Linked DNA regions of Homo sapiens: regions 1, 2, 3, 4, 5 and 7 are each linked to region 6. Evidence: promoter capture Hi-C in 16 types of primary human blood cells and fetal thymus (Javierre and others, 2016). All regions are on one chromosome and are shown on one strand. Each heading gives the region's core, a stretch centred on a gene start or on the middle of the fragment in contact. The rest is flanking DNA. Distances are from core to core; before and after follow the strand shown.

The links. The method cuts DNA at HindIII sites, captures the fragments that hold promoters and counts their contacts. A CHiCAGO score of 5 or more calls a contact.
Region 1: a contact is called between a fragment that was not itself captured here and the fragment with the promoter of RGS10 in region 6, in 1 of 17 cell types (activated CD4 T cells). The highest score is 5.8, in activated CD4 T cells.
Region 2: the fragment with the promoter of PRDX3 here is called in contact with the fragment with the promoter of RGS10 in region 6 in 11 of 17 cell types (non-activated CD4 T cells, endothelial precursors, fetal thymus and 8 more); the score reaches 11.9 in non-activated CD4 T cells.
Region 3: a fragment that was not itself captured here is called in contact with the fragment with the promoter of RGS10 in region 6 in 11 of 17 cell types (activated CD4 T cells, non-activated CD4 T cells, total CD8 T cells and 8 more); the score reaches 9.9 in activated CD4 T cells.
Region 4: a contact is called between a fragment that was not itself captured here and the fragment with the promoter of RGS10 in region 6, in 1 of 17 cell types (naive CD8 T cells). The highest score is 5.0, in naive CD8 T cells.
Region 5: a contact is called between a fragment that was not itself captured here and the fragment with the promoter of RGS10 in region 6, in 3 of 17 cell types (naive CD4 T cells, naive CD8 T cells and non-activated CD4 T cells). The highest score is 7.2, in naive CD4 T cells.
Region 7: a fragment that was not itself captured here is called in contact with the fragment with the promoter of RGS10 in region 6 in 12 of 17 cell types (naive CD8 T cells, non-activated CD4 T cells, naive CD4 T cells and 9 more); the score reaches 10.1 in naive CD8 T cells.

Annotation. Positions count from the first base shown.
Region 1 is chr10:119,065,474-119,068,854 of GRCh38, reverse strand. EIF3A (eukaryotic translation initiation factor 3 subunit A) reads left to right here. Exons shown (of 22, transcript NM_003750.4): 7 at 3,285-3,381. Among named protein-coding and RNA genes, the nearest start is that of SNORA19, 7.0 kb to the right of the region's middle. RefSeq lists an enhancer at 1,749-2,250. The HindIII fragment of the contact is 500 bases long and covers 1,474-1,973 here.
Region 2 is chr10:119,177,044-119,180,213 of GRCh38, reverse strand. PRDX3 (peroxiredoxin 3) reads left to right here and starts at 1,402. Exons shown (of 7, transcript NM_006793.5): 1 at 1,402-1,459; 2 at 3,061-3,170. The coding sequence starts at 1,424. RefSeq lists a silencer at 1,260-1,369 and enhancers at 1,400-1,879, 1,879-2,523. The HindIII fragment of the contact is 12,445 bases long and covers 1-3,170 here.
Region 3 is chr10:119,159,984-119,163,150 of GRCh38, reverse strand. It overlaps SFXN4 (sideroflexin 4), which reads left to right. Exons shown (of 14, transcript NM_213649.2): 3 at 737-811; 4 at 2,070-2,096; 5 at 2,182-2,236. Among named protein-coding and RNA genes, the nearest start is that of SFXN4, 4.1 kb to the left of the region's middle. The HindIII fragment of the contact is 382 bases long and covers 1,700-2,081 here.
Region 4 is chr10:119,088,331-119,091,372 of GRCh38, reverse strand. No RefSeq gene overlaps it. Among named protein-coding and RNA genes, the nearest start is that of EIF3A, 9.0 kb to the right of the region's middle. The HindIII fragment of the contact is 8,979 bases long and covers 1-3,042 here.
Region 5 is chr10:119,041,451-119,044,771 of GRCh38, reverse strand. It overlaps EIF3A (eukaryotic translation initiation factor 3 subunit A), which reads left to right. Exons shown (of 22, transcript NM_003750.4): 18 at 630-718; 19 at 2,000-2,778. Among named protein-coding and RNA genes, the nearest start is that of NANOS1, 13 kb to the right of the region's middle. The HindIII fragment of the contact is 5,604 bases long and covers 1-3,321 here.
Region 6 is chr10:119,540,843-119,544,093 of GRCh38, reverse strand. RGS10 (regulator of G protein signaling 10) reads left to right here and starts at 1,375. Exons shown (of 5, transcript NM_001005339.2): 1 at 1,375-1,504. The coding sequence starts at 1,456. RefSeq lists enhancers at 1-120, 383-462 and silencers at 673-832, 883-952, 963-1,702, 1,753-1,922. The HindIII fragment of the contact is 10,649 bases long and covers 1-3,251 here.
Region 7 is chr10:119,113,429-119,116,809 of GRCh38, reverse strand. The region is part of intron 3 of DENND10 (DENN domain containing 10); the gene reads right to left. Among named protein-coding and RNA genes, the nearest start is that of DENND10, 11 kb to the right of the region's middle. The HindIII fragment of the contact is 2,453 bases long and covers 546-2,998 here.

The DNA.
Region 1 (3,381 bases), core at 474-2,973, 480 kb after region 6:
ATTACAGGCACCCACCACCATGCCCGGCTAATTTTTGCATTTTTAGTAGAGACAGAGTTTTACCATATTGGCCAGGCTGGTCTCCACTCCTCACCTCATGATCCACCTGCCTCTGCCTCCCAAAGTGCTGGGATTACAGGAGTGAGCCACCGCGCCTGACTTGTATTTTATTTTATTTTATTTTTTCTTGAGACAGAGCCTTCGCTCTTATCGCCCAGGCTGGAGTGCAATGATGCGATCTCACTCCGCCTCCTGGGTTCAAACAATTCTCCTGCCTCAGCTTCCTGAGTAGCTGGGATTACAGGTGTGCACCACCATGCCTGGCTAATTTTTTGTATTTTTGGTAGAGATGGGGTTTCATGATGTTGGCCAGGCTGTCCTCGAACTCCTGTCCTCAGATGATCCTCCTGGTTCGGCCTCCCAAAGTGCTGGGATTACAGGTGTGAGCCACCACGCCTGGCAGGGTAAATACTTCTATCAAGTCATTTTTTCCTGATTGCAAAATATTAAGTGTAGAATATTTGGGTCATGTTTATTCTCATATAAATACATATGAATATAAAAGGAAGGGTCTATAACCCAACAACCTATAGACCAATTTTTTCCCTGTGCTCCACACGTTCAGAGAAACTTCTCTAGCAACAAACTATAGAAATGAGCCCCGAAGGCATAGTCTTCCATTTTATTATTTTTAACGTTACGTATAACCTGTTTTCTGTCACTTAAAAAAAAAATACATTTCTGGCCTGGCGCAGTGACTCATGTCTGTAATCCCAGCAGTTTCGGGAGGCCAAGGTGGGTGGATCACTTAGGGTTAGGAGTTCAAGACCAGCCTGGCCAACATGGCAAAACCCCGTCTCTACTAAAAATACAAAAATCAGCTGGGTGTGGTGGTGCACGCCTGTAATCCCAGCTACTCGGGAGGCTGAGGCCGGAGAATGGCTTGAACCTGGGAGGCGTAGCTTGTGGTGAGCTGAGATTGTGCCACTGCACTCCAGCCTGGACGATAGAGCAAGACTCCATCTCAAAAAAAAAAAATGCTATTGGACTTAGGCAACACACATACCACCTGTTTTCTTGTATTGGTCCACCAATTATTTTGTTATCCAGTAGAATTATGTAAAGCAAATTGTCTTTCTTATGTAAAACTATTTTAGAGCAATTCATGGGACCAATTAAATGAGTCCCACTAGTATATTTTCTTTCTTTCTCTTCTTTGTTCTCTATGTCTTTGCTTTCTGATACGGTCTTTCTTTCCTTTCTCATAGGGTCTTGCTTCCTTGCTCCAGATGGAGTGTAGTAGTGTGTTGTAGCTCACTGCATGCATCCTTGAACTCCTGGGCTCAGACTATTCTTCCACCTCAGCCTTCTGAGTAGCAGAGACTACAGGCGAGCGCGACCACGTCCAGCTAATGTTTAATTTTTTTTGTGGAGGCAGGGTCTCGTTATGTTGCCCAGGCTGGTCTCAAAGCTTCTGGTCTCAAGTGATCTACCTGCCTCAGGCTCCGAGTGTGTTGGGATTTATAGGCATGAGCCACTGTGCTTGGCCACTAGCATATTTTCTTAGAAACTCTTGAGGATGGTGTCCGTTATGGCATCCACTGTCACTTATGTAATTCACATCCTTTTTTTTTTTTTGAGACAGAATTTTGCTCTTGTTGCCCAAGCTGGAGTGCAATGGCGCAGTCTTGGCTCGCTGCAACCTCTGCCTCCCGGGTTCGAGCGCTTCTCCTGCCTCAGCCTCCCAAGTAGCTGGGATTACAGGCGTGCGCCACCACGCCTGGCTAATTTTTTTTGTATTTTTAGTAGAAACGGGGTTTCACCATGTTAGCCAGGCTGGTCTTGAACTCCTGACCTCAGGTGATCCACCTGCCTCGGCCTCCCAAAGTGTTGGGATTACAGGCATGAGCCACTGCGCCTGGTCCACATCTGTTTGTTTTAAGGAAAAACATGTTCTTCCAGACACATAAGCTTGCCTTCAGAGAGTACTACAATAATAGTGAGCATTAGGCTGTCTAGCTCTTAGTACATTATTTGGTTTAATCTTTGCAGTAGCCTTATGACTCAGAAAATTAAGTATCTTGCCTACGGTCACAGTCTTGGAAATGGCGAAGGGGAGATGCTAGCCCTTCAGCTCCAGGGCTCGCAGTCTTTGGGGTCCTGCCATGCTCTGAATGCAGCCTGACTTCTTGTCTTTCAGGGATGTGAAAATTTAGCTCCTGGTTCTTGTCTCCCCCTCTCCCTCACTACCATAATAGTGTTCACTTCTGATTCTTAAAATTTTTTTCTGCCTTATTGCCACTTACTTCCTTAGGTTTTTTTTTTTTTTTTTTTTTTTTTTTTTTTTTTGACAGTCTTAACTCTGCCCCCCAGGCTGGAGTCCAGTGGCATAATCTTGGCTCACTGCACCCTCCGCCTCCTGGGTTCAACTGATTCTCCTGCCTCAGCTTCCTGAGTAGCTGGGATTACAGGCGCCTGTCACCATGTCTGGCTAATTTTTGCATTTTTAGTAGAGATGGGGTTTCACCATGTTGTCCAGGCTGGTCTGGAACTCGTGACCTCAGGTGATCCGTCTGCTTCGGCCTCCCAAAGTGCTGGGATTACAGGCGTGAGCCACTGCGCCTAGCCATTTCCTTAGTTTTTAAACCTGCCTTAATTTTGTAAGGAAGTCTGGGGTATATGAATGTGTGTTTTCTGTCATTTAATCACAATCTTTTTCTTTCTTTTTTTTTCTTTTTTGAGACAGAGTCTGGCTCTGTCGCCCAGGCTGGAGTGCAGTGGCGCGATCTTGGCTCACTGCAAGCTCCGCCTCCCGGGTTCATGCGATTCTCCTGCCTCAGCCTCCTGAGTAGCTGGGACTACAGGCGCCCACCACTACGCCTGGCTAATTTTTTGTATTTTTAGTAGAGATGGGGTTTCACCGTGTTAGCCAGGATGGTCTCGATCTCTTGACGTCGTGATGTGCCCCCCTTGGCCTCCCAAAGTGCTGGGATTACAGGCGTGAGCCACCGCGCCTGGTCAATCACAATCTTTTTCTGAAGCTAGAAAACACTGACAGTACTGAGTGGATAGATGAAGTCCTGATTCTCCAAGTATTCGTTTAAACACAGCCCATTTCTCTTACTCCCATGCTTTGATGGAATAATATTTATGAGTATAGTGCACCATGGTGATGTACACGTTCTGTCACTAGCACGCCTTACCGTAAGATTAAAGAGAAGTGCTTTTCTGCTTACCAAGTATCATTTACAAACCTAACAGATTTAAAACTTTGTTCTCCATAGAATGTCTACTAGAGTCCTTTTAGCCACTCTTTCCATCCCTATTACTCCTGAGCGTACGGATATTGCTCGACTTCTGGATATGGATGGCATTATAGTT
Region 2 (3,170 bases), core at 153-2,652, 360 kb after region 6:
CCTGAGATGATTTTAGAAAATATACTGGGCTGGGTGTGGTGGCTCACGCCTGTAATCCCAGCACTTTGGGAGGCCAAGGTGGGAGGATCACCTGATGTCAGGAGTTCAAGACCAGCCTAGCCAATATGGTGAAACCCCATCTCTACTAAAAATACTAAAAAAATTAGCCGGGTTTAGTGGTGCACGCCTGTAATCCCAGCTACTCGAGAGGCTGAGCCAGAAGAATCGCTCGAACCAAGGAGGTAGAGGTTGCAGTGAGCCGAGATTGTGCCACTGCACTCTAGCCTGGACGACAGAGTGAGACTCTGTCTCAAAAAAGAAAAGGAAAAAAAAAAAAGAAAGCCAATTTAAAGAAAATAGTAAGTGATATTTGGTGATAAGAAGACTTGAGAAACGAAGTTGCTAATTGAATGACTAGTGATTGGAAAATACCAACTCAGACCGGGTGCAGTGGCTCATGCCTATCATCCCAGCACTTTGGGAGGCCGAGGTGGGCGGATCACTTGAGGTCAGGAGTTTGAGACCAGCCTGGCCAACATGGTGAAACCCCATCTCTACTTAAAATACAAAAACTTAACTGGGCATGGTGGCAGGCGGCTGTAATCCCAGCTGCTCAGGAATCCCAATTACTCATGAAGCTCAGGCAGGAGAATCGCTTGAACCCGGGAGGCAGAGGTTGCAGTGAGCCAAGATCATGCCACTGCACTCCAGCCTGGGCGACAGAGCAAGACCCAGTCTCAAAAAAAAAAAAAAAGAAAAGAAAAGAAAAGAGAAAAGAAAATACCAGCTCCAAGACTGCAATTTGTCACACTTACTGTAAGGCCACGGTGTGATTTTTATCTATGTTTGATGTGGTTGCTTCAAGTACTATGCTCACCACTGAACACTTGGCTTCATTAATAGACAAAAACCAAATTTTAAATTTGTCCCAGTTTTCCCAATTTTGGGAAGAGAGGCCAAATGTTAGACCACACACAATTCCAGCGGATTTCAGGCCAACAAAGCCTTGATGTGTCTAGCCCACTTAGCTTATTAACGGACTAAAACTGCATTTGTAATTAATTCCATTTCATACAGAAGCCGGAAGTCTCTACCTGAGGCTGAAATAAGAAAGGGATCCTGTCACAGAAATACTAGACACAGTAATCCACACAAGGTTAACAAAACAGTGGGAAATATGGAAACAAATACCTAATGCCCCGCCTGGATTCGTTCTTTTAAGGTTGGGGCGACAGTAGGAAAACCACGTGTCACTTGCCCAAGCATTCAGCCTTAAAGGGAATTTCTCCCTCAGGGTCTCCAGGAGGCGGGGAGGCGGTGGCTCCTCCGGCCCCGCCCCCCCACCAGCAGAGGGCCCGCTCACCACCCCGTAGGCCCCGCCCCTGCGTCTCTGCCCGCCCCGTGGCGCCCGAGTGCACTGAAGATGGCGGCTGCTGTAGGACGGTTGCTCCGAGCGTCGGTGAGTGGCTGTCGGCTGGGGACAGGCGTGGAGACACTGGTGGCTCCGGGAACGTGCTTCTCAGACAGGACCCCGCGCTTCTGGGCATGAGGGCCATTCGCCCTTCTTGGAGGGTTTCCGCGGGTAACGGACCCAGAGGCCTCCCTCCGGGAAGGTTCCATGCGCCTGCGCAGAACCGCCCTTCCCCACTCCATCCTCGCGGTCTCTTCCCCGAGTCCCTCCTCTTTCGGCGTCCCCGGTCCCCAGGCCCATCTCCACTTAAGGTCCTGGCCCTGATTCTGCCACCGACCCTGTGATCTTGGGCAAGCGCCTTCGCCTTTCTCAGACTGTGTACTTAAGATGGAAAGAATGATGCCTACATCAAGGCGTTGCTGTGAACAGCCCCTTAAATACTGGATAAAAACGCGCAAAGTGCTAAAAAACTCACAAAGGCTTTCCCTCCCAATCCCACTCCCGCGTGTTTCTGCTGCTGTTTCCTGCTTAACTGTGGGCAATGCGTCGTGCTCTTTTGGTACACGGCTTTCTCTGGTGGGGTTCAACACAGCCCCTTTCGTTCTCCTGAGTCATTTTGAACATTAAAGTTGAGCAAACCGGCAGAGTGCGGTGGCTCACGCCTGTAATCCTAGCACTTTGGGAGGCCGAGGCGGGCAGATCACTTGAGCCCAGGAGTTTGAGACCAGCCTGGACAATAATAGTGAGACCTTGTCTCTAAAAAAAAAAATAGCCGGGCATGGTGGTCAGTGCTCCTGGGGAGGCTAAGGTGGGAGGATCACTTGAGCCCAGGAGGTCGAGACTGCAGCGAGCCGAGATCGCGCCACTGCACTCTAGCCTGGGTAAAAGAGCGAGACTCTGTTTCAAAAAAAAAAAAAAAAAGTTGAGTAAACATGTCCCTTGAGCCTTTAACAGACTCCCAGAGGCTGAATTTGGCTCTTCTTGTTTACTTGTCGCTGGTGCTGGAGGGGCCTTGTTTTTCTAAGGAAAACCTTGAAATGGTAGAACATACTCAGCAGATAGTGCTGGGAAAAGCCTGCACAAGTCCCCTGGCTTCTGAACCCTGTGTTGCTTTAAGCGCATGGAGTTTCTGATTTTTTTTTTTTTTTTTTTTGAGACGGAGTTGTCGCCCAGGTTAGAGTGCAATGGCGCGATCTCGGCTCTGCAACCTCTGCCTCCCGGGTTCAAGCAATTCTCCTGCCTCAGCCTCCCAAGCAGCTGGAATTACAGGTGCCCGCCACCGCCGCCTGGCTAAGTTTTGTGTTTTTAGTAGAGATGGAGTTTCACCATCTTGGCCAGGCTGGTCTCGAACTCCTGACCTGGTGATCAACCCGTCTTGGCCTCCCAAAGTGCTGGGATTACAGGTGTGAGCAACCGCGCCCAGCCGGTCTTTGTGTTCTTATAGTTCCTCTCCACCTTCCAGTCTCCTAGGAGAAGGAAGCAGAAGGGAGTGTTAAGAACATGCAGATCCAATCCATGCTCTTAGAGTTTGGGGTTTGCTATTTGGTTCACAGGAACAGGGACAGCTGAAACCACCGTTGGCACGATGCCCTTTCAGCCTTCAGTCACCAGTCCAGGAAAACTTTCTAATAAAAAGTTTCTCTTTCCAGGTTGCCCGACATGTGAGTGCCATTCCTTGGGGCATTTCTGCCACTGCAGCCCTCAGGCCTGCTGCATGTGGAAGAACGAGCTTGACAAATTTATTGTGTTCTGGTTCCAG
Region 3 (3,167 bases), core at 641-3,140, 380 kb after region 6:
GTAGCCATTCTTTGTAATTTTTGTATTTATTTTTTCTCAAATTAAGAAATGGAGGCTGGCTGTGGTGGCTCATGTCTATAATCCCAGCACTTTGAGAATCTGAGATGGGAGGATCTCTCGAGAATAAGAATTTGAGACCAGCCTGGGCAATGTAGCGAGACCCTATCTGTACAAATAAAAATAGAAAGTTAGCCAGGTGTAGTGGGTTGTGCCTGTAGTCGCAACTATTTGGGAGGCTGAGGCAAGAGGATCACTTAAGCCCAGAAGTTTAAGGCTGCAGTGAGCTATGATCACACCACTGCACTCCAGCCTGGGCAACAGAGTGAGACCCTGTCTCTTAAAAAACAATAAGAAAAGAAAGAAAGAAAAAGAGAGGAAATAAGACTGAACTGATAAGACATGGAAGTGGGTGAGGGAGAAGGACTTCTAGGTTTCTGACATGTATAGCCAGGGGATGGTGGTAACCATTCAGTGCGACAGTTGACATCAGAGAGTGGGGGAGGTGACAGCACCATTGGGGGCAGCTGCTGGAGCATCTAGGAAGAGGAAGGCATAAATCTGAATGGCACTCAGGGCTATCCTAATGGATAGAGAGCCTAGGGCACCATGTGGCTTGAAATCAGGCATGCAGTCGAAGTCCAGTGCATGCTGGTGAGTGAGCTGGTGATTCCTACCTCTGGGGATAAACCTGAACAATGTTGAGATCATTACTTGATTACTTGATATCTGATTTTAGGAAAGTATAGAAAACTCGAGGCAACTATTGTGCACAAATGAAGATGTTTCCAGCCCTGCCTCGGCGGACCAAAGGGTATGTTTCACGTGCTCAGGTCTGGCTGGTTGCCCTCAGATGGTTCTGCCTGCATGGTCTGAAGTCAGGTGGAATTTGGCCATTAATCTCTGTCTCCGTCTCTTTTCTTTCTTTTTTCCTTCCCTTGGGAGCCACTGTTCTATTGGCTATTAATGCTGTCATTGTTATATACTGCCCAGAGGACCAGCTTTGCAAAACTGGGTTAGTTTTTTAAATGTAGTTAGAATTCTGTCCCATAAACCAGACAGCAAGTTTCCTCCTACACAGTGGATATTTGTGGGGATTCCCTGCAGCTGATTCCTGGAGCCCAGTGGCAAACCCCAGAATTCAGACAGGGCTCTGACGTCAGAATTCATTCTCCACTGCAGGCAGCGTTCCTGCCGATAGGCTCAAACGGACTGTTCCTTATCTACCTTGCAGTATGTGGGGCTTTCTGGAGCTCACAAACACCAGCTCCTCAAGACAGCCTATGGAGAGCTCACATATTTAACTTTTTCTAAGAATGTGCTGGGGACCCTGGGCTGACAGCTTGGCTCTGTTGCAAGTAACTTGACTGATGGCATGGTGTGTCATCAGCACACAGCCTGCTCTGCTCTGAGCCAGAGGCAAGCCGGATTCGGGGACTCATCTGAGGGATAAGTTAGGTGTTGGTATTCTCCAAGGGTAGAGACAGGACTTTTTAATGTTCTGGTCCATTTCTCTGTGTGGCTCGTCTCTTTGCTTGTCATTAGTTCATTTGTTTATTCATATGATCCATTTATTTTGATTTGTTCTGTCAATGTGGTAAATAACAGCTCTGGCCTTCACTCTCTGAAAGGTAGAACAAATGTGGTCCCAGAAATGAGACAGGCAAAGAAATTCTTTGCTGTTGAGCCACCTTTAAAAGCTTTTTTTTTTTTTTTGTTTTTTTTTGTTGTTGTTGTTGTTTTTTTAAGGCTGGGTGTGATGGCTTAACCCTGTAATTCCAATGGTTTGGGAGGATGACTTGATGCCAAGACTGCAAGACCAGCCTGGGCCGTATAGCAAGACCCCATCTCTACTAAAAATTAAACAACTAGTTGGGAATGGTGGCGTGAGCCTGTAGTTTCAGCTATTCAGGAGGGTGAGGTGGGAGGATCGTTTGAACCCAGTAGTTCGAGGCTGTTCTGCAGTGAGTGATGATTGTGCCACTATACCCCAGCCCTGGGTGACAGAGCAAGACCTTGTCTCTTAAAAAAAATTTAAAATGAAACAAAGCTATTCTTTTTTCTCCTTTAAGATACAAGAAGCTTGGAAGCGGAGTCTTGTAAGTTTCAGCCCCTTCCTAATTTTTAGTGTCCTATAATAACAAAACCAGACATCCAGCTAACCTTGCATCTCTCCTTTTGAAGGCAACAGTGCATCCCGACAGCAGCAACCTGATCCCCAAGCTTTTTCGACCTGCAGGTGAGTTGGTTCTAATTTTCAGAAGTGGGTTGGGAAGATGTAGTTTCTAACACTTAGAAAACTCTGCCTGCCGGATCACCTGGGGTCAGGAGTTCGAGACCAGCCTGGCCAACATGGTGAAACCCCGTCTCTACTAAAAATGTAAAAAATTAGTTGGGCATTGTGGTGGCACGTGCCTGTAGTCCCAGTTACTCAGGAGGCTGAGGCAGGAGAATTGCTTGAACTTGAACCCGGGAGCCGGAGGTTGCAGTGAGCTGAGATCATGCCATTGCGCTCCAGCCTGGGCAACAAGAGTGAAACTCCGTGTCCAAAAAAAAAAAAAAAAAGAAAAGAAAACTCTGCCTGCCTTGCTTTAATTATTTCTCCCCCAGCAGGATTTCTTTCTTTTTTTTTTTTTTTGAAACAGTGTCTTGCTCTGTCACCTAGGCTGGAGTTCAGTGGCACAATCTCGGCTCACTACAACCTCCGCCTCCCAGGTTCAAGTGATTTCTCCTGCCTCAGCCTCCTGAGTAGCTGGGATTACAGGTGCCTGCCACCATGCCCAGCTAATTTTTTTCCTTTGTGTATTTTTAGTAGAGACAGGGTTTCACTATGTTGGCCAGGCTGGTCTCGAACTCCTGACCTTCTGATCCGCCCACTTGGCCTCCCAAAGTGCTGGAATTACAGGCGTGAGCCACTGTGCCTGGCCATGTTATAGTAATTTTATGTACATACTTTATTATTATTGTCATTTTTAGAGACAGGGTCTCGCTCTGTTACCCAGGCTGGAGTACAGTAGCACCATAATAGCTCAAAGCAGCCTCCAACTCCCAGGCTCAGCTGATCCTTCTACCTCAGCCTCCTGAGTAGCTGGGACTACAGGGTCATGCCGCCACACCTGGCTTTAAATTTTTTATGGAGGTGGGGGTCTCGCTACCTCTACAAAATAGAG
Region 4 (3,042 bases), core at 173-2,672, 450 kb after region 6:
GGTTTATGCCACGGTGCTCGGCTAAAACAGACTTAGAGCAAATGACCATGAGAAGGCTCTCTGAGGAGGTGCCATTCAAGCTGCTCCGTGAGAAGCTGATACAATGAAAAGGTCCATGTGAAGATTATCTAATATACACACCCCCAACATAAAAGTCCACACCCTGTGGTTTTAGGTTTCCTTCTAATCGTATTTAACGTATTTAACAGTGATGCTTGTTTTCAAACCACACCCAAAACCACCATGCACAGTGTATTACTCACTCTGCTTTATTGGGCCTGGTTGGTCTGTGTGGCTTTGGACATTACCTCCTAAATCCCCAAGCAGGAGCTGCACTTCATGGCATGTCAATAATGGCATGTGTGAGTATATGCATTGATCCCACAAACATGCTCCTCTCCTTCCCTTCAGCCTTCTCCTGGAGTCTGGCAGAAACTTAAAGGCTGAAGACAGCCAAATGTAAGATGCATTTCTCCCAATAAGTAACAAATACTGCCAGGACATGTTTTTACTAAATATACACTTAACTGAAGCTGCATTCCAATTTTCCTGCTTTGAATTTGCAGAACCCAAAAGGTCCAATGAGAACCGTCTGGCTCAGGCACAGTGCACCTCACATCTGCACTTCATGGACCATCGTTGAAAATTTCCAACCCCGGTTGGACACTTTCATGATTAAGAATGCACGGCTGTAAGGTTTCAGACCTTGTTACCACACCGTCGGAACCACCAAGGTGCTCTGAAACATAAAATGAACAACCACTTTCTGGTGTTGACTGTGTGCCAGGCACAATCTACATGCAAAAATGAACTGTCCTAGTGACGACCTTCAAAGGACTCCCAGTGGCATACAGGAGACCAACATGGAGAGAGGCAATCATAATACAGGAAGCCTCCTTTAATCAGTTTATTTATTCAACAGAAATTTACCGAGTGCTTACTATGTGCCAGGCACTGTTATAGGTACTAGACATACAGCAGTAAATGAAACAGACACAAAATCCTTGCCCTCATCAAGCTCGTTTTATTCTAAAGGGGTGGATAATAAAGAAATAAATTCATAAAATATATGGGGATCAGATGGTGATAAACCTGATCAAGTAGAGAAGGAAAGGCTGGGAGCAGTGACTCACGCCTGTAATCCCAGCACTTTGAGAGGCAGAGATGGGTGGATCACCTGAGGTCAGGAGTTTGAGACCAGCCTGGCCAACATGGTGAAACCCTGACTCTACTAAAAATATAAAAATTAGCCGGGCGTGTTGGTGGGCATCTGTAACCCCAGCTACGTGGGAGGCTGAGGCACAAGAATCACTTGAACCCAGGAAGCAGAGGTTGTAGTGCCACTGCACTCTAGCCTGGGCAACAGAGTGAGACTGTCTCAAAAAAAAAAAAAAAAAAAAAAAACAGGAGAAGGAAAATCAAGAAGAGAAGAAGAGAAGGGTGCTAGGAAGTATGGGTGCAAGGGATGTTATTATGACTTTAATGAGGTGAGGGAAGGTTATCATGGCTGAAAAGGTGACACTGGGGGTAGTGGAGAAGAACTGTGTAGGGCTTTGCAGGCCATTTTAAGGACGTTAGCTTTCACTGAGTTGGTGAACCACAAGAGGGTCTTGATCAGGGGACTGATAATTTCACTTTTGTTTTAAAAGGATTCCTCTGCTCACTATTAGGAGAGTAAAGTGAAGGTTTCCAAAGGTGGAAACTCACAGACAAGTTAGCAGGTTATTCAATACTCCAGTTGAGAAATGGTGGTGACTTGGACCAGGTGGTAGCCATGGAGGTGGTAGATATAGGATTCGTTGATGGGTTGATTGGATGTGGGGAGGTAACAAAAAAAGAGGATTCAAGGATGTTTCCAACATTTTTTGATCTGAGCAACTGGAAGAACCAGGTTGCCATTATTAACATGGGAAAGATGACAGGAGAAGATTGGAGGTAGAGGAGACCAGGTGTTTGGCAGGTTGAATGTGTGTAGTACATTGAACATTTAATAGATTTGCCAAACAGGCATCTGAATGTGAGAGGTCGGGCTTTCAGGAGAGAGGTCTAGGGCGGGTGATACAATTTTGTAACTTATAAGCCTAGAGATGATTTCTTTGTTTTTTGTTTTTGTTTTTGTTTTTTTTTTTTGAGATGGAGTCTTGCTCTTTCGCCCAGGCCGGAGTGCAGTGGCGCTATCTCAGCTCACGGCAAGCTCCACCTCCCGGGCTCATGCCATTCTCCTGCCTCAGCCTCCCGAGTAGCTGGGACTACAGGCGCCCGCCACAGCGCCTGGCTAATTTTTTGTATTTTTAGTAGAGACGGGGTTTCACCGTGTTAGCCAGGATTGTCTCGATCTCCTGACCTCATGATCCACCTGCCTTGGCCTCCCAAAGTGCTGGGATTACAGGCGTGAGCCACCGCGCCCGGCCTGAGATGATTTCTTTCTTTTCTTTTTTTTTTTTGAGACAGGGTCTTGCTCTGTTGCCCAGGCTGGAGTGCAGTGGCTCGATCTCGACTCACTGCAACTTCTGCCTCCTAGGTTCAAGTGATTCTCCTGCCTCAGCCTCCTGAGTAGCTGGGATTACAGGTGCGTGCCACCATGCCCAGCTAATTTTTGTATTTTTAGTAGAGACGGGGTTTCCATGTTGGTCAGGCTGGTCTCGAACTCCTGACCTCGTGATCTGCTCGCCTCTGCCTCCCAAAGTGCTGGGATTACAGGTGTGAGCCACCGCGCCCAGCTGAGATGATTTCTTTATTGAGATGAAGTCTTGCTCTGTTGCCCAGGTTGGAGGGCAGTGGCGTAATCTTGGCTCACTGCAACCTCTGCCTCCTGGGTTCAAGCGATTCTCCTGCCTCAGCCTCCCAAGTGGCTGGGATTACAGGCATACACCACCACGCTCGGCTAATTTTTGTATTTTTAGTAGAGACAAGGTTTTGCCATGTTGGCCGGGCTGGTCTCAAACTCCTGACTTCAGGTGATCTTCCTACCTCGGCCTCCCAAAGTGCTAGGATTACAGGCATGAGCCACTGTGCCCAGCCCTAGAGATTCTTTCTTTTCTT
Region 5 (3,321 bases), core at 818-3,317, 500 kb after region 6:
GGTTCAAGCGATTCTCCTGCCTCAGCCTCCCAAGTAGCTGGGACTACAGGCGCCTGCCACCACGCCTGGCTAATTTTTTGTATTTTTAGTAGAGACAGGGTTTCACCGTGTTAGCCAGGATGGTCTTGATCTCCTGACCTCGTGATCCACCTGCCTCGGCCTTCCAAACTGCTGGGATTACAGGCGTGAGCCACCGCGCCCGGCCCATCAGAGTACTTTGAATAGAGAAGTACTGTTAATTTAACCACCCCCATTAGACATTAAATAAAATGTCTCCACCTTTCTTTGCTTCGTAGGCACTGTGATGTCCATTTCAGGGCATGTGGCTTTTTTCACATTCTTCAAAGGGGATTTCTAGGTTGAAGGAAATCTGTAGAGGTGTATGTTCCCAGGTTGCTTTCCAGCACAGTGTTATATCGGTTTGTAAGGCCACCTACAATATATGAGACTACCAGTTTCCCTGTAGCGTCAGTCTGATCTCAGATTAAAAAATAAATGAAATTTTAAAACTTGCTTATTTAAGGGCTTCATATTGTTATAAGTACAAAAAATATTTGAATGGTAATACCAGTAGTTGTAATAGTAAATGGTTACCAATGTAATGCTTCTTTTTCACTTTGTCAATGGAGGACTCTCGTTGGGGAGATAGAGATTCAGAAGGCACCTGGAGAAAAGGACCTGAAGCAGATTCTGAGTGGAGAAGAGGCCCGCCAGAGAAGTAAGTAGAGTTGAGGAAAATAATGCCGCTCCAGTTCCTGTTAATATCTTATCAGTGGTTTTAAAATTTGGTTCATTTTGTAGAGGCAGGGAAAGGAGAGCCATGAAGAATTGTGTGCATGTCTGATTGCGTGTGGGTTTGTATTTTGTTTTTTTGGGTCTGCTGCCCAGGCTGGGGTGCAGTGGCGCTATCTCGGCTCCCTGCAACCTCTGCCTCCTGGGTTCAAGTGCCTCAGCCTCTCGAATAGCTGGGATTACAGGTGTGTGCCACCACACCTGGCTACTTTTTGTATTTTTAGTAGAGATGGGGTTTTGCCATGTTGCCCAAGCTGGCTTTGACCTCTTGACCTCAAGCGATCTGACTGTCTCAGCCTCTCAAATTGCTGGGATGACAGGCATGAGCCACTGCACTTGGCCTGTGTTGTTGTTTTTGTTGTTGTTGTTGTTGTTTTGAGATGGCGTCTCACTCTGGAGTGCAGTGGCGCGATCTCGGCTCACTACAGCCTCAACCTCCCTGGGCTTAGGTGATCCTCCTGCCTCAGCCTCCTGAGTAGCTGGGACCACAGGTGCGCTCCACCATGCCTGGTTAATTTTGTTTGTTTGTTTCTTTGTTTTTGAGACAGAATCTAGCTCTGTCACCCAGGCTGGAGTGCAGTGGCGCGTTCTCGGCTCACTGCAGCCTCCGCCTCCTGGGTTGAAGCAATTCTTGTGCCTCCCAAGTAGCTGGGAGGCACTTGTAATCCTCCCAAGTAGGATTACAGACATGCACCACCACGCCTGGCTAATTTTTGCATTTTTAGTAGACCCGAGGTTTCACTATGTTGGCCAGGCTGGTCTTGAACTCCTGACCTCAAGAAATCTGCCTGCCTCGGCCTCCCAAAGTGCTGGGATTACAGGTGTGGGCCACTACGCCTGGTGAATTTTTATATTCTTTATAGTGATGGGGTTTTGACATGTTGCCCAGGCTAGTCTCAAACTCCTGGGCTCAAGCAATCCTCCCGCCTTGGCCTTCCAAAGTGCTGGGATTACAGGTGTGAGCGACTGTGCCCAGCCGCATGTCTTACAATTAAGTAGAGATGGGTTTTGCCAGGCCAGGCTGGTCTTGAACTCCTGACCTCAGGTGATCTGCCTGCCTCTGCTTCCCAGAGTGCTGGGATTAAAGGTGCGAGCCACTGCTCCGGCCCATACTGAAGTTTTTAAAAAGCATGTGAAAAAAAAAATCCCCAAAGGATCATATGCTTTTTTATTTTATATATTTTTAATTGTTCTTGTTGCTGTGTAGGGAGTGGAGACGTGGAGAAGGGCGAGATGAGGACAGGTCTCATAGAAGAGATGAAGAGCGGCCCCGGCGTCTGGGGGATGATGAAGATAGAGAGCCCTCTCTTAGACCAGACGATGATCGGGTTCCCCGGCGTGGCATGGATGATGACAGAGGCCCTAGACGTGGTCCTGAGGAAGATAGGTTCTCTCGTCGTGGGGCAGACGATGACCGGCCTTCCTGGCGTAACACAGATGATGACAGGCCTCCCAGACGAATTGCCGATGAAGACAGGGGAAACTGGCGTCATGCGGATGATGACAGACCACCTAGACGAGGACTGGATGAGGACAGAGGAAGCTGGCGAACAGCTGATGAGGACAGAGGACCAAGACGTGGGATGGATGATGACCGGGGGCCGAGGCGAGGAGGCGCTGATGATGAGCGATCATCCTGGCGTAATGCTGATGATGACCGGGGTCCCAGGCGAGGGTTGGATGATGATCGGGGTCCCAGGCGAGGCATGGATGATGACCGGGGTCCCAGGCGAGGCATGGATGATGACCGGGGTCCCAGGCGAGGCATGGATGATGACCGGGGTCCCAGGCGAGGGTTGGATGATGATCGAGGACCTTGGAGGAACGCCGATGATGACAGAATTCCCAGGCGTGGTGCAGAGGATGACAGGGGCCCTTGGAGAAACATGGATGATGATCGCCTTTCAAGACGTGCTGATGATGATCGGTTTCCCAGACGGGGTGATGACTCAAGACCTGGTCCTTGGAGACCATTAGTCAAGCCAGGTAAAATTCTATTTCCTAGAATATGCTTAAGTGTTCACCTGTAAAAGTGAAATTCTGATGGATAAATATCAGGGCTGTATTGTTATTTTCCAGATAAACTGGTCTTTCATCTTTCCTTCAGTATCATTTGCAGTGACTTCGCTGTCAAAAGTTTGCCTTCAGAATACCACCATCCAAAACATAAATAACCCAACCCCTCTCTTCTTTAGTGATGTGCTCTTTGTTTTCCTTCTGCTTCGATGACTGCTTCTTTGAAGGCTCTTCCTGTACTCATGCTTTCAGTATTGGTGTATTTTTCAGGTTTTACTGGGAACCAGCCTCCTTTTAAAAATAAATAATTGAAACCAAAATGTACTTTATATATTTATTTTTGCCAACTGAGAGATTATGCAAGGAGGAACTCATTTTACTTTACTTTTTTTGAGACAGGGTCTTGCTCTGTTGCACAGGCTGGAATGCAGTGGTGCAGTCATGGCTCACTGCAACCTTGACCTCCCGGACCCTAGGGAGCCTCCCACTTCAGCCTTCTGAGTAGCTAGGACT
Region 6 (3,251 bases), core at 126-2,625:
TGGCAGCAGAAGGGGGAGAGTGCTTGGAAATGCTCGGAGGAAAACGACTTTTGGAGGGGGAATAGCGGGGAGGGAAACAACAAGCAACCACCGGCCACACTTGGGGTGCAACTGGGGCTGTGGGGTGGGTAGAGGGAGAGGGAAAGTGAGCAGAACTGGAAGCTCAGAATAGAAGATACAAAAGAAAGTGCCAAGTAGTGAAAAAAACTGCAAAAGGACGGGGGGATGGGGGGAGGGCGACTGGGGAACGGTTTGGAAAAATAGCAATTAGTACAGCTAAAAATAAAGACCAATTTAGAGACAAAGCCAGATACACAAGGAGAAAAATAAAACTCGCCAGAAAGACAATTTCTTGCAAACCAAATGTTCAAGAAAATGGGGGCTAATGACATCCCCTCTGGGGCTGCTCCATAGAAGAAATGAAATAATAGGAGACCGTAGAGCGCGCAGCGCCCAGCAGGTGACGCCGTGGGGGCTTGAGTGGTCCCGGTCGTGGAGCCTGAAGGCCCTGCCAGAGGCAGTGCCCACGTGTCCCCAAAGTTAGAGAAGTGTCCCGAGAGCGCGGTGTGCGGGACAGAGCACCGCCCGGCGCAGGAACCGGGGGGTTCCTGCAGAATCCTCTCAGATCTCCCCGAGTCCTGGCGCCCGCGCGGCACGGCCGGGGAGAGGGCGCCCACCCGCGGCGGCTCGGCTAGCTCAGCGCACGGGCCCTGGGGACGCCCCACCCGCATTCGCGGGGCGGGAAGGCGCAGCGCCCACGAAGTCGAGGAGCAGCCAGGCCCCAGCAGGCGGGGATCCTGGTGACGAGGAGGCAAAGGCCACAGGCTGGGCCGCGCCCGGACTCTGCAGAACCGCGAGGCCTAGGCTTCCCAGCCTGTGACCCGGGAGGGGACCCCGCCCGCCACCTGCGAAGGCTCGCTGAGAGCCCCGAAGCGCGGTGCGCCCGCGGCGCCGTGCCAGTTTCTCCGGGGCTACAGGGAGAAGGCGGGAGACCGCGATGGGCCCGGGAGCTTGAAGCTGGGCGGGGCGGGCCGGGGCGGCATCTCAGGCGAGGGCCAGGGACCCCGGGACGCGCTAACCGCCTCCGCGGGGCTACTAAGTTCCCGGCGGCGCGGGCTCCCTCTGGGCCAGTGCACCTTATCCCAGGCGCGGGGCACACTCTGGGCGATCGGGGGTCACCCGGGGCTGCCCTGCCCTGCCCCGCCCGGGCACCCCGGAGCGGAACCGCGAGTCCTCACCAGCGGGGGCGGGCAGGGCGCACTGAGCGCGCCACGCGGCGCCTGGCTAGGAGGAGGGCGGCGGGCGGGGACCTAGAGCTCCGGGGCGGTGCTGAGCCCGCTCCTCCTCCTTGCCCTCCTCCTCCTCCTCCTCGCCCTCCTCCTCCTCCTCGCCTTCCTCCGGCTCAGCCGCCGCGCCGCCGGGCTGCTCCTTCTTCCTCCTCGGGCGCCCGCGGCGATGTTCAACCGCGCCGTGAGCCGGCTGAGCAGGAAGCGGCCGCCGTCAGGTAAGCGGCTTCGGGGGCCCGCGGGCTCGGGGTCGGGGCGCCGTTTCGCCCGCCCGGCCTCCTGCCCTCCCTCTTGTGCTCGGGCGCGGCTCGGTGGTACCTCCCAGACTGGAGCCCCGGCCGACCGCACCACCTCTCCCCGCTGGGTACCGCACCTTCGCGGTCCCAGCCGCGACGGGAGCGCAGAGCTCCTCCGGGAGCCCCGGGGAGGAAGTTTGGCTGAAAGAGGAACAGCCGCAGTTTTCTTTTTAGTGATGGTCTGGGAGAAAAAGGAGCGCCCCAAATCTCCAAACTTTGGAGGTGACATGGGGCTCCAGATTCCGAAAGCGGAACGGCGCGCGGGCTTCTCCCTCCGTGACGCTCTCCGCCTCCGCTGCGGGCGTGGGTGGAAGGATGCCGAGCGCCCGGGGGAGCACGGCTGGACCCGGGCATCCGACTGGGCCCCTGGGCCTGGGGCGTCGGGGGCCTTCGCTTCTGCCGCGAGGAGCCAAAAGGTGGGATCGCGAGGGTGGCGGAACCCCAGGATGGAGAAGGGCACTTCTGCGGTCCGAGCCAGCGAAGTTCTGACGTTACGAAGGATTCGCCTTGGCCGTCACTTTGGGCCAGCCTGAGCCACGATCTCGGGCAACTTGATAGGCCAAAGACCCCACGGTGAAGGTGGAGCCGTGCCCTTGATTCCGGTCCTTCCACCCTTTTGCTCATCACAATAGCTACGACCTGTGCAGGCCTTTGGGTGCGCCAAGGGCTTTGTCCACCGCGTTGGGTGAACTCTCCCTTCACCCCTAGGACAACCCGGTGAGTGAGGAGGGAGCGGAAGCCAGGCGCTGTTAGGTAACTTGCCCCAGTCACACTCCGCAGGTGATGGGGAGGCTTTCAAACCCAGGTTCCCCTGACTCTGAAGTTCGGGGGCTTTGCCGGGCTTCCCACGCCAAGATTCACTTCTGCTTGGCGCTCAGAGTCCCAACGCGTTGGTGCATTTCCTTTCTGCTCCTGGTATTTTATGAGGGACATTGTGGTTTAGAGACTGGGACCAGACTGGCTGGATCCGAATCTCACCTTCGCCATATTCACCAGCCGTGGGACCTTTCTGCAGAATGAGGTTCTGCACAGTGGGAATAACAGTAGCTACTCGCCTTTTAAAGTACTTAATTGGAACCTGTCTTCCATCCATCAGGTTTTGCAAATTATTGTATTTAATATGTAGGATTTCATAGGGTTGTTGTAATGATCTTACATTGTTGCCCGGCAAGTACTAAGTGCTCCGTTAGCGTTAGTGGTCATGTAAACCTTTTTGTGTTGCATGTGAGTCAAAGAATTCCCTTGTGGGTGTTAATGTTAACCAGTCTCTATGGTTGGCACAGGCCTGTGGAGCGCTGCTCAGAGCCTGGACTCGAATTAAACTCTTGGTTCTAACCTTGACTCTGTCATTCAGCAACACTGGGCAAATTACTTGATCTCTCTGTGCCTCCGTTTCAGTGATGTGCTGGAGCTGGCTCAAACTGGCTTGCAAGAGCCAGTTGCCAAATATTCAAAAAGTTTGGAAACTGGTTGTAAACCATAGGTAGCTTGAAAGTAGTTATGATGGGATATTTACATCATGAAAATCAACAAAGCTAAAAATGAAGGCTTCATTTTGACTCAGGAGAGCTGATGTTCCAGCACCTTTCTCCACCTGCAAAGTGGGTTTCATAGGGTTATGGGATTAAATACTCAAAACCATATGAAGCCCCTAGTACAATGTGTGGCA
Region 7 (3,381 bases), core at 523-3,022, 430 kb after region 6:
GTAATCCCAGCTACTCAGGAGGCTGAGGCAGGATTGTCGCTTGAACCAGGGAGGCAGAGGTTACAATGAGCCGAGATTGCACCACTGCATTCCAGCCTGGTCAACAGAGCAAGATTCTGTCTCAAAAAAAAAAAAAAAAAAAAAGAAAGAAAGAAAGAAAAGAAAAAGCTTGAGAGACCTTCAACAATTCTTTGGACTCAGCCATCTCCTTACATCTGGGAGCCCCTTGTTGTACTAAGGCAGGAGAATGAAGTACGAACTTCCTGAGGTCCCAGGATTCTCAAGAATGTTGTGCACTTATCCTGTGTCTTACATTCACAACTGGGGTTCTCAGTCATACAACTCTGTTTTATCACTGAGATTTCCTTTGACGAGAAAGGAGTTTTACGCACTGTTCACAGAGAAACCAGTAATTAGTTGTAGAACCCATACTTATTATTAAATGAGTTCCCAGAGGTAGCTATATTTAGATAATTAAGAAATCAAAACTCCTTTAGGTTTCTGGTGATAAATGCACATTAGACATTCATCGTCAAGTTAAAGCTTCTAGAAAATGCTGACAGGAAACTGGCTGCATTTATAGCTCACATGTGGAATCCGTCTCTTCCCCTTGAAATCTCTTCCTGTGAGCAACTAAAATTAAATTTTGCTTGAGAAACATGACTGGGTCTATTTGGGCCTTTCAGGAGCTGGTGGGATAGAAAATCGGGAAGAAAATAAAACATATTTAAGACAGATCACTTGAGGGCCGGGCACAGTGACTCATGCCTGTAATCACGGCACTTTGGGAGGCCAAGGTGGGCGGATCACTTGAGGCCAGGAGTTAGAGACCAGCCCGGGCAACACGGTGAAACGCTGTCTCTACTAAAAATATAAAAATTAGCTGGGCCTGGTGGCTCACACCTGTAATCCCAGCTACTTGGGAGGCTGAGGCAGAAGAATTGCTTGAACCCAGGAAGAGGAGGTTGCAGTGAGTCAAGATCACACCACTGCACTCCAGCCTGGGCAACAGAGCGAGATTCCGTCTCAAAAAAAAAAAAAAAAAGATCACTTGAAAATTATATTTATCATAGACTAAATGAAAAAAGCAAGTGTTTTAACTGCTTGCCAACTTTTGTCAATCATCAGTGTTTTTTTAAAAATTACCAATTCCAGCACTTTGGGAGGCCGAGGCGGGCGGATCACGAGGTCAGGAGATCGAGACCATCCCGGCTAAAACGGTGAAACCCCGTCTCTACTAAAAATACAAAAAAAATTAGCCGGGCGTAGTGGCGGGCGCCTGTCGTCCCAGCTACTTGGGAGGCTGAGGCAGGAGAATGGCGTGAACCCGGGAGGCGGAGCTTGCAGTGAGCCGAGATCCCGCCACTGCACTCCAGCCTGGGCGACAGAGCGAGACTCCGTCTCAAAAAAAAAAAAAAAAAAAAAAATTACCAATTCAATTCACAACTTGACGGAAAAAAAGTAGAGAACAATGAATGTGGTGAGCTTTCACACATGTAAAATACATTCAAACCCAGGAACTCACACACAGGCTCACACAGGGAGAAAAACTTCTCTGATAGGATATAAAGAAGGAGGTCACGGGAGTTGTGTGGGGTGGGGATCAGGAGGTAGAACTGGAGTCTGGGAACAGGAGGAGGCGGCAGCTCAGTTTTCACTGCATATTCTCCTGTGTTTCTAAATGTGCTTTATTACTACCAACAACAAAAAACCAAAATGCCATTAGCTTTCTAAAATAGAGGCCAAGCACTGTGGCTCATGCTTATAATCTCTACACTCTAGGAGGCCGAGGCAAGAGGCTCACTTTAGGCCAGGAGTTCCAGACAAGCCTGGTGAACATGGTGAAACCCCGTCTCTACTAAAAATATAAAAATTAGCCAGGTGTGGTGGTGTGCACCTGTAATTCCCACTACTTGGGAGGCTGCAGCACAAGAATCACTTAAACCCATGAGTTGGAGGTGGTAGTGAGCCGAGGTGGCGCCACTGCATTCCAGCCTGGGTGACAGAGTGAAACTCTATCTCAAAAAAAAAAAAATTATAAAATAGAAACAATACACAGTAATAGAGAAGAGAAACATAAGGTTGGTAGGATAAGATGACTTCCTACATGACAACCCTGGGCCAGGAGAGATAAAACAGAGGGGGAAATCCCCCCAAAACCACTCCACAGGAAAAGCCCACAGTGCGACCCCAAGCACCTTGTTCAGATAGACATCCATAGGCTGCCACACATCGAGGCCTGTACAGCTGACTGCAAGTGTGCATGAAACCCCGGTTCTCTAGCAGGGCCACTAGCAGCAAGCGACTAGAGGCTGAAGAGGACCACAGCAGTGAACCTGCAGCCACATAGGGAATGAGGTTCCCTCCTGCGGGCTTCTGCTGCCACTGTGAGCAGCAAGCTGTGTGTGGAAGGCACGCCTGCCTGCTCCTCACCAGAAATGGAGGGAGGCAACTCCATGTTAAACTGTCATGAAGAAAAGAAGTCTTTGCCTATGAGTGTGTGCATGTACACACAGACCTGTGTGTGTGTGTGTGTGTGTGTGTGCAAATACTTGGATGTGCATACATGCAAGAGTGAGCATAGTGCTGCATGAAGGGGCAGGAAGCAGAGGAGGCGGCTGGCAGTAGCTCCGAGTCCTCACTTCTCTTGCACTGTGACGGGAGAAGAAATCCAGGATACTACAATGCCACGCACTGCACAAGCTGAGAAACCCTCTGGGCCTCCTTCTGGGCAGGAAGTGGGGTCTGAAGCAACCTTGCCTTTTGGACTCCAGAATATTTCCCAGTGAATTCAGTTGAGCAACATAACCCTGACTCAACCAAATGAAATGGGAGTCCAATGTTTGTTCAAAAATACCTCTGTAGTGTTTTTAGTTTATGGCTTCTGGATAGCGTCTTTTCTGGCAATAATAATCTCCCTTTGTGTAAGTGCCACATTAGCAGACAACTGTTTATCCACAGTGAGACATTCACCTGGTTCTTATGAGAGTAGGAAGCTTTTTTATTCTGGCTGGTTGCAAAAATGGTGAAATCTCATTTAGCCAAGATATAATCTAACTGAAACCCTTAGGTAATGAGAAGATAGTCTTATGATAGAGTTTTTCTCTTTTTTTTTTTTTGCTTCTTTTGGTGTGTGTATATACATTCACGCACAAAAATAGCCAAAAGCCTACCATTTATTAGGCTTATAAAACAAAAACAATTCCCTTCACCCTCAGTGCCCCCAAAAATCTCTGTATTAGGGAAAAGCCTGACGGTAACATGACACCTAGAATTATAATTCTATCTAGTAACAACATTTTTTTTTTTAAAGGGCTAGGTGCAGTGGCTCACGTTTGTAATCTCAGCGCTTTGAAAAGCCAAGGCAGAGGATCACTTGAC